2 separate regions of the Homo sapiens genome follow, and region 1 is linked to region 2. The links are contacts of gene promoters, found by promoter capture Hi-C in blood cells and fetal thymus (Javierre and others, 2016). All regions are on one chromosome and are shown on one strand. The core of a region is centred on a gene start or on the middle of the fragment in contact, and the rest is flanking DNA. Distances in the headings are between cores, read along the strand shown.

The links. Contacts are between HindIII fragments. The CHiCAGO score rates a contact against its expected background, and 5 or more counts as called.
Region 1: a contact is called between a fragment that was not itself captured here and the fragment with the promoter of FAXDC2 in region 2, in 6 of 17 cell types (neutrophils, total CD4 T cells, fetal thymus and 3 more). The highest score is 6.5, in neutrophils.

Annotation. Positions count from the first base shown.
Region 1 is chr5:154,732,940-154,737,902 of GRCh38, forward strand. It overlaps a transcript of LARP1 not described here. Among named protein-coding and RNA genes, the nearest start is that of LARP1, 20 kb to the right of the region's middle. The HindIII fragment of the contact is 2,192 bases long and covers 1,377-3,568 here.
Region 2 is chr5:154,848,640-154,853,022 of GRCh38, forward strand. It overlaps FAXDC2 (fatty acid hydroxylase domain containing 2), which reads right to left and starts at 1,964. Exons shown (of 9, transcript NM_032385.5): 1 at 1,844-1,964. The HindIII fragment of the contact is 21,500 bases long and covers 1-4,383 here.

The DNA.
Region 1 (4,963 bases), core at 1,223-3,722, 120 kb before region 2:
GAAGTTGGTCCTGGGAGGAGGGTATGTGTCCTGGTTGGCTGTAATGGGTGGTGGAGTTAGTAAGTAAGGCGAAAAAGGTGAGTGTCTCATAAAATCCCAGTCTCAGGGTCCCCAGGATTGTCTCATTCATTGGCTCCGTCTGGACCCACCTGGAATGTTATGTGGCTTGGGATTTCTGGACTAAGGTTGACCCTTGTCTTATCTTTGAAACAAATATACTATAGCCACCAGGAGAGTGGTAGGGGTATTGTTTGACCAATTTAAGTAACACATACATTATAAATTCGTGGCTATTGAAGGAAGCCATGAACTGGTTGACAAGTTACGACACCGTGTTGGTCTAGCAGCATAGCCAGGCTGTCAATAACACAGGCTTTGGCATCAGACTGCTCTGAAATCGGACATAGCTCTGACATTTCTATTTTTTATTTTTGTGTAGAAATGGGGGTCTGGCTATGTTGCCCAAGGTGGTCTCAAACTCCTGGCTTTAAGTGATCTTCCTGCCTCAGCCTACCAAAATGCTGGGATTACAGCTATGAGCCACTATGCCTGGCCAGCTTTGACATTTCCAAATGAGTTTGCACAAGCTATATAACCTCTGTTTTTTCTTTTATCTTTTCTTTCTTTCTTTTTTTTTTTTGGAGACGGAGTCTCACTCTGTTGCCCAGGCTGGAGTGCAGTGGTGCCATCTTGGCTTACTGCAACCTCTGCCTTCCAGGTTCAAGCTATTCTCCTGCCTTAGCCTCCTGCGTAGCTGGGATTACAGGTGCCTGCCACAATGCCTGGCTAATTTTTGTATTTTTAGTAGAGACGAGATTTTGCCACGTTGGCCAGGCTGGTGAGGAACTCTTGACCTCAGATGATTCGCCCACCTCGGCCTCTTAAAGTGGTGGGATTACAGATGTGAGCCACCGTGCCTGGCCATAACCTCTATTTTTTTGTCTGTAGAAAGAGTTTTAATAATAGTACCTAACTCAGCACTTTGGGAGGCGGAGGCGGGTGGATCACCTGAGTTCGGGAGATCGAGACCATCCTGGCTAACATGGTGAAACCCTGTCTCTACTAAAAATATAAAAAATTAGCCAGGCATGGTGGCACATGCCTGTAATCCCAGCTTCTTGGGAGGCTGAGGCAGGAGAATCACTTGAACCTGGGAGGCAGAGGTTGCAGTGAGCCGAGATCACGCTATTGTACTCCAGCCTGGGCAACAAAAGTGAAACTCCCTCTCAAAAAAAAAAAAAATAGTACCTACCTCAAAAGGTTAATATGTGAGATAATTCATGACGAGCACAAGTATCTTGCACTACATAGGAAGTATTACTATTATTATATTGAGATTAATTATTAGCATTGATTTCAAATTATATACAAAATAAAGCTTCAAAAACATGAAGTCAACTTATGTCAGTTTTGTGGACATCAAGACAGAGGCTGAAATAGGATGAATTTTAATTGTTTTAATAAGTAACAAAATGTTCCCTAAAAAAAGTTACAGAGTACAGATTAGCAAAAGGGACAAAATCAGCACTCAGAAATAACCACTGGTAATCTTTTGGTTTATGTCCTAATGATAATAATTTACATATATTAGAATAGAAAAGGACATTTGACAAAAATAGTATCACACTGAACAGGCTGTTTTGAAACCAGCTGTTTTTCAGTGAGTAAAGGGGGCGTATACAGGCAAATGTATTGTTTTGGTTTTGGGTTTTTTTAATTAAAAAAATTCCTTTTCTGGTAAGAGATACATAAAATTTACCATGTTAACCATCTTTAAGTGTACATTCAGTAGCGTTAAGTATATTCACGTTGTTGGAAACAGATTTCCAGAACTTTTTTATCTTGCTAAACTGAAACTCTGCACCCATTAAAAAACAACTTCCCTTTTCCCGCTCCCTCCAGGCCCTGGTAACCAGCATTCCACTTTCTGTTTCTATGAATTTGCTGACTTTAGATATCTCATATAAGTGGCATCATACAGTATTTGTTGTTTTGTGACTGGCTTATTTCATTTAGCATAATGTCTTCAAGTTTCATTCATGTTGCAACATATAACATGATTTCCTTCCTTTTTAAAGCTGAATAATATTCCATGGTATATATAATATATACCACATTTTGCTTGTCCGTGTATCCATCAATAGACATTTGGGTTGTTTCCATCTCTTAGCTATTGTGAATAGTACTGCTATGAACATAGGTGTACAAGTGGCTCTTTAGGACCCTGCTTTCAGGTCAAACGTGGTGGCTCATGCCTGTTATCCCAGCACTTTGGGAGGCCAAGGCGGGCAGGTCACCTGAGGTCAGGAGTTCAAGACCAGCCTGGCCAACATGGTGAAACCCCGTCTCTACTAAAAATACAAACATTAGCCAGGCGTGATGGGTGCCTGTAATCCCAGCTACTCGGGAGACTAAGGCAGTAGAACTGCTTGAACCTGGGAGGCGGAGGTTGCAGTGAGCTGAGATCGCACCACTCTCCTCCAAGCCTGGGTGACAGAGCGAGACTCTGTCTCAAAAAAAAAAGAGACCCTGCTTTCAAATCTTTTGGATATACACACAGAAGTGGGATTGCTGGATCATATGGTAGTTCCATTTTTATTTTTATTTTTATTTATTTATTTATTTATTTATTTATTTATTTTTTCTGAGATGGAGTTTCGCTCTTGTTGTCCAGGCTGGATTGTAGTGGCGTGATCTCGGCTCATTGAAACCTCCACCTCCAAGGTTCAAGCAATTCTCCTGCCTCAGCCTCCTGAGTAGCTGGGATTACAGGCACGTGCCACCATGCCCAGCTAATTTTTTTTGTATTTTTAGTAGAGACAGGTTTCGCCATGTTGGCCAGGCTGGTCTCAAACTCCTGACCTCAGGTGATCTGCCCGCCTTGGCCTCCTAAAGTGCTGGGATTACAGGCATGAGGCACTGCACCTGGCCAAGGTAGTTCCATTTTTAATTATTTTAAAAAGTTTTACATTTTTTGACTTTATTATTATTTCTAGAAATGGGAGTCATCACTCTGTCTACCCAGGCAAGAGTGCAGTGGCACCATCTTAGCTCACTGCAGCCTTTAATTCTTGGGCTTAAGTGATCCTTCTGCCTCAGCCTCTCAAGTAGCTGGGACTACAGGTGTTCGCCACCATACCCAGCTAAGTTTTTTAATTTTCTTTTTTTTTTTTTGAGATGGAGTCTTGCTTTTGTTGCCCAAGCTGGAGTGCAATGGCGTGATCTCGGCTCACTGTAACCTCTACCTCCCAGTTCAAGTGATTCTCCTGCTTCAGCCTCCCGAGTAGCTGGGATTACAGGCGTGTGCCACCACACCTGGCTAATTTTTGTAGTTTTAGTGGACACGGGGTTTCACTATGTTGGCCAGGCTGGTCTCGAGTGCCTGATATCAGGTAATCCACCTCCCTCAGCCTCCCAAAGTGCTGGGATTACAGGCATGAGCCACTGTGCCCAGCAAGTTTTTAAATTTTTTGTAGAAATGGGGTCTCACTATGTTGCTGAGGCTGGTCTCCAACTCCTGGCCTCAAGGGATCCTCCTACTTTGGCCTCCCAAAGTGCTTAGATTACAAGCTTGAGCCACACCCTGCCTGGCCTATTTTTATTTATTTATTTATTTATTTATTTATTTATTTATTTATTTATTTTAGACAGAGTCTCACTCTGTTGCCCAAGCTGGAGTGCAGTAGCATGATCTTGCCTCACTGCAACCTCTGCCTCCTGGGTTCAAGTGATTTTTCTCCCTTAGACTGCTGAGTAGCTGGGATTACAGGTATGTGCCATCACGTCTGGCTAATTTTTGTATTTTTAGTAGAGACAGGGTTTTACCATGTTGGCCAGGCTGGTTTCAAACTCCTGTCCTCATGTGATCAGCCCGCCTCAGCCTCCCAAAGTGCTGGGATTACAGATGTGAGCCACCATCCCTGGCCCTATTTTTAATTTTCTGAGGAACTTCCATATGGTTTTCCATGGTGGCTGCACCATTTTACATTTCCACCAACAGTACACAAAGCTTCCAGTTTCTACACATCCTTGCTAACTCTTGTTATTTTCTGGTTTGTTTTGATAGTAGCCATCCTAATGTGTGTGAGGTGAATAAATGTGTTGTTTTTTTGGTTTTTCAAGACAGAGTCTCCCTCTATCACCCAGGCTGGAGTGCAATGGCACAATCTCAGCTCACTGCAACCTCTGCCTCCCAGGTTCAAGTGATTTTCCTCCCTCAGCTTCCCAAGTAGCTGGGATTACAGGCGTGCACCACCACACCGTGCTAATTTTTGTATTTTTAGTAGAGACGGGGTTTCACCATGTTGGCCAGGATGGTCTCAAACTCCTGACCTCAAGTGATCTGCTTGCCTTGGCCTCCCAAAGTGCTGGGATTACAGGTGTGAGCCACCGTGCCTGGCCAATGTGTTGTTTTAATGCAATTCTAGGGGGAATGTTTAAAGTACTCAAAGGAACTAAACTTCCTTTTTGGTAATCTAGAAGCATGGAATTTTTCTCTTTTTTTTTTTTTTTTTTTTTTTGAGATGGAGTCTTGCTTCGTCACCCAGGCTGGAGTGCAGCGGTGAGATCTCAGCTCACTGCAACCTCCGCCTCCCGGGTTCAAGCAATTCTCCTGTCTCAGTCTCCCGAGTAGCTGGGACTACAGGCACATGCCACCACGCCGGCTAATTTTTTTGTATTTTTAGTAGAGACGGGATTTCACCTTGTTGGTCCGACTGGTCTCGAACTCCTAATTTGAAAGACAGTGATTAGTTCTGTAATGCTGCAGCAGGTCAACCCTTGGTACTTGTTTTCTCCTCAAAACTCTCTTCCCCAAGCTTCTGCCAAGTCTCTCTCTCTCTTTGATCTCCTCTGATATTCCCGGTTCCCCGCCCCTGCCCCTCCTTGTGAATGAGCTATCCTCATTGTTCCAGCTTTCCAGCTCTGCTCTAACCACCCCTCCTCAGCCCTCCCCTTCATAGTC
Region 2 (4,383 bases), core at 714-3,213:
TATAGAAGATAGAGTGGCCGATATTCATTTAAGAAGATGAAATGCGGCCAGGAGCGGTGGCTCGCATCTGTAATCCCAGCACTTTGGGAGGCCGAGGTGGGCAGATCACCTGAGGTCAGGAGTTTGAGACCAGCCTGGCCAACATGGCGAAACTCCGTCTCTACTAAAAATATAAAAATTAGCCGGGTGTGGTGGTGCACGCCTGTAATCCCAGCTGCTCTGGAGGCTGAGACAGGAGAATCGCTTGAACCTGGGAGGCGGAGGTTGCAGTGAGCCAAGATCATGCCACTGCACTCCAGCCTGGGCGCCAGAGCAAGAGTCTGTCTCAAAAAAACAAAAAAAAACAAAGATGAAATGCGGCTGGGCACGTTGGCTTATGCCTGTAATCTCATAACTTTGGGAGGCCGAGGTGGGTAGATCACCTGAGGTCAGGAGTTGGAGACCAGCCTGGCCAACATGGTGAAACCCCATCTCTACTAAAAATACGAAAATTAGCTGGGTGTGGTGGCGGGCACCTGTAATCCCAGCTACTTGGGGGGCTGAGGCAGGAGAATCTCTTGAACCCAGGAGGTGGAGGTTGCAGTGAGCTGAAATCGCGCCACTGTACTCCAGCCTGGGTGACAGAACGAGATTCCATCTCAAAAAACAAAAAAAACAAAAACAGAAGATGAAATGCATGAAAGGAAAGGTTAAAAATGATTCCCATGGGCCAGTTTTAGTAATACTCTCTTCACTCCTTTTGCTGCATGGTACTTGCACCCTTTGAGCTTACTGTTCTGCTTGATTGCATGTCCATGAGGCCGAGAATCTGCCTGTCTTGTTTACCACGAGATCCACAGAATCAAGCCCAAGCCTGGCATGTAGAAGATACTCAAGAAAGATTTGCCGAATAAATAAGAGATACACGAATCAAAAGCATTGCTTTTTGCCCTCAAAAAGTGTTCAACATTTGCTATGGAACATTTTAGCACCATTCCCTTGTGCTAATTACTTTCGTAACTAAAGTTAGAAGCTGATGCTCAGTGCATCTGTGTTTTAGCAAATTGAATTGAATCTGTATATCCCACTCAAAGAAATTTAATTGGAATTGCACATGAAACTGAAGCAACCCACAAATCAGCATCTTGTCTTGCTTGCCTTAAGCCCCAGAAGGTCCTGAAAGCCACTGTTCTATTGTTCATCTCCACCTACACACTTTACTGTATGCCCTTTACTCAATAACCTTCGTGGAGTGTTTCCATAGGTACTATCAAGCCACTAACGATTTCACAACTGGAGCCACTGTTGGTAAATCCAAGTATGTTGCATCAAAACAGTTTCAACCTACTTGTCTAGCTCATAGCCCACACATCTATCCAGAGACTTTAAAACTGTTGTATTTTGCCCCATACCTTCCTGGTGATGGCAGAGTAGAGATGAGAAGCAATTAGGCAGCAGTTGCTTCCCAACAGTCTCTTCCAGTTTGTTCTGCCTCTCATTTGAGTTCTGAATTAGGAGTTGCTCCTTTACAAATGGTTTTAAAGTCAAACAATTACTTGTCCATTACAATCACCTGTCAATTGCTAGAAAAATTAGACTACTGAGGAGGTAGATGGTACAAACACAGGCAGAGGATACAGACATTAGTAAGAGACAAGGAGGCGACTGCACTACAGCAATGTCCTAGGACAAATTCTAACCCTGCCATCTAACCCTGTTTAGAGGCAAATCTAACCCTGCCATAAGTAGAGAGGACAGGGTGGTGGCAGAGGTGGGAAGAGTGTTGTTTTGCCCTTACTTTAAGTGAACCTGGACATGTCCTGACCTTTGCAAACACCACCCCTCCCCCGTAGTTCCCACTTACCTCTGCAGTGGGCTGTGTCCAAGCTGCTGAGGTCCTTGCACAGGTCAAATCTAAGTTCTCTTCCCTTTCAGCCCCCGCTTTGGTGGCTGTTGCTGCTGCGGCTCTGCTGCAGGCTAACCTTGTTTTTGCTCGGGTGGGAGGCTGGCCATGGTGATCTCATTACAGAGCTGCGTACTGGCTCGGACCAGGCACGTGATGAAAAAAGTTTGGGTCTGTGTGGGCTGGAAACAAAACACCCTTCTTTCCAGAGGGCATGTCCTTAAAGCGGAAAGGGAATCTAAGCTCAAGCAGGAACTTGAAAAACGTGCATTTGGCCAAACTCTGGGCTTCCCTCCCCCTGCCCCCTTTTTTTCTTTTAAAAAATTTTCTCCATCATCTGCAACTTAAGAAAATGTCGCTGTCCCATAGGAGGAGGCAGATTCAAGAAAAGATGTGGGTGTCAGATAATGGCAGGTAGTACAAGTTGATAAAAAGGTGACAGAGACCAGAGGATCTCATTTTCTTTTTTTTCATTGCTTCTTTTCCTGTGGAGGGCAGGCAAGGGAGGAGAGATGCATCAGCTATTTCTAGTGAGTCTAGATGCAGGAAAGGCATGCCTGTGGAGGGTAAATTTGCACTGTGATTGAAATAGGGGAACTTAGGATACAGGACCCATGACATGAAGTGAGGAGCACTTTGGAAAAAGAGCTGCTTTTAAATTTCTGAAAACTTTTTAAATAAGCAAATGTGCAAATGATATAAAATACAATAGGGTCAAAAGAATGTACAATGAAAAGTCTTTTTTTAATTTCTCCTCAGTCCCCTTTTTTTCCTCCCAAGAGACAACCTCTGTGACCAGATTTTTGTATATCCTTCCAGAGCTTACCTCTGTAAATAGAAACATGTGTAGGCCTTGTGCTTCTCCTTTAGCAACAGCACCATAGTATGTTTGTTGTGCACCTTGCTTTTTCCACTTAACAATCAAACATGGAGATTGGCTAGGCATGGTGGTGCTCACCTGTAGTCCCAACTATTTGGGAGGCTGAGGTTGGAGGATCACTTGAGCCCAGGTATTTGAGACCAGCCTGGGCAGCACAGGAAGACTCCTTTCTAAAATAAACAAAACTCAGAAACTTGGCTGGGCACGGCGGCTCACATGTATAATCTCAGCACTTTGGAAGACCAAGACGGGAGGATCACTTGAGGCCAGGAGTTCAAGACCAGCCTGGGCAATGTAGCAAAACCCCATTTCTACTACATATACAAAAAATTAGTAGAGCTTACTGGCACATGTCTGTTATCCCAGCTACTGGGGAGGCTGAGGTGGGAGGATGGCTTGAGCCCAGGAGTTGGAGGCTGCAGTGAGCTATGATTGTGCCCTGCACTCCAACCTGAGTGACAGAGTGGGACCCTGTCTCTAAAAAACAAAACAAAATAAAAAATGCCGGGTGCAGTGGCTCATGCCTGTAATCTCAGCAATCTTTGGAAGGCTGAGGCAGGAGGATTTCTTTTTTTTATTTTTTGAGATGGAGTCTTGCTCTGTCACCCAGGCTGGAGTGCAATGGCATGATCACAGCTAACTGCAACCTCCGCCTCCTGGGTTCAAGCGATTCTTCTGCCTCAGCCTCCCGAGTAGCTGGGACTACAGGTGTGCGCTGCCAGGCCCGGCTAATTTTTGTATTTTTTTTTTTTAGTAGAGATGAGGTTTCACCATATTGGCCAGGCTGGTCTTAAACTCCTGACCTCATAATCTGCCCACCTCAGCCTCCCAAAGTGCTGGGATTACAGGCATGAGCCACCACCGTGCCTGGCCTGGCAGGAGAATTTCTTAAGCCCAGGAGTTAGAGACCAGCCTGGGCAACATAATGAGGCCCTGTCTCTAAAATAAATAAAACTGTCAACAACAAAACATGGAGACTGCTCCATATAGTACCCTTAAGAGCTGCCATGTTCTGTTTAATGGCTGCCTCCCGTCCCATTGTATAGATGTGTCATACTTTATTTGGCCAATAAAGGACCATGTCTTCCTCATTTTCCTTGCCTAATTCGTTGCACAAAGCAAGGGCTCAGTAAACATTCAATGCTTGCTCACAAATTAATTACATTTTGTACAACTTGTTCATGTTTTTCCTCATCTCTCCTTTCAGAGATACTAATTTTTTTCAATATTCCAGATATTGCAGAATGTCTATATTTTCCAGCTGACCAAGTCTATCTTGTGCACTGAACAAACCTGTGCTACCAGACTTCCAAGACTCACTTTAGTTTGGCTCCTCTCAGATGATATTATTTCCTATTCCCTCCTACTTTCTATTTTTTAATTTTTTTATTTTTATTTTTGAGATGGAGTCTCATTCTGTTGCCCAGGCTAGAGTGTAGTAGCACAATCTCGGCTCACTGCAACCTCCGCCTCCTGGGTTTAAGCGATTCTCCTGCCTCTAAGCGATTCTCCTGCCTCAGCCTCCAGAGTGGCTTGGACTACAACAGGCGCCTGCTACCACGCCTGGCTAATTTTTTTTTTTTTTTTTTTTTTTTGTATTTTTAGAAGACTCAGGGTTTCA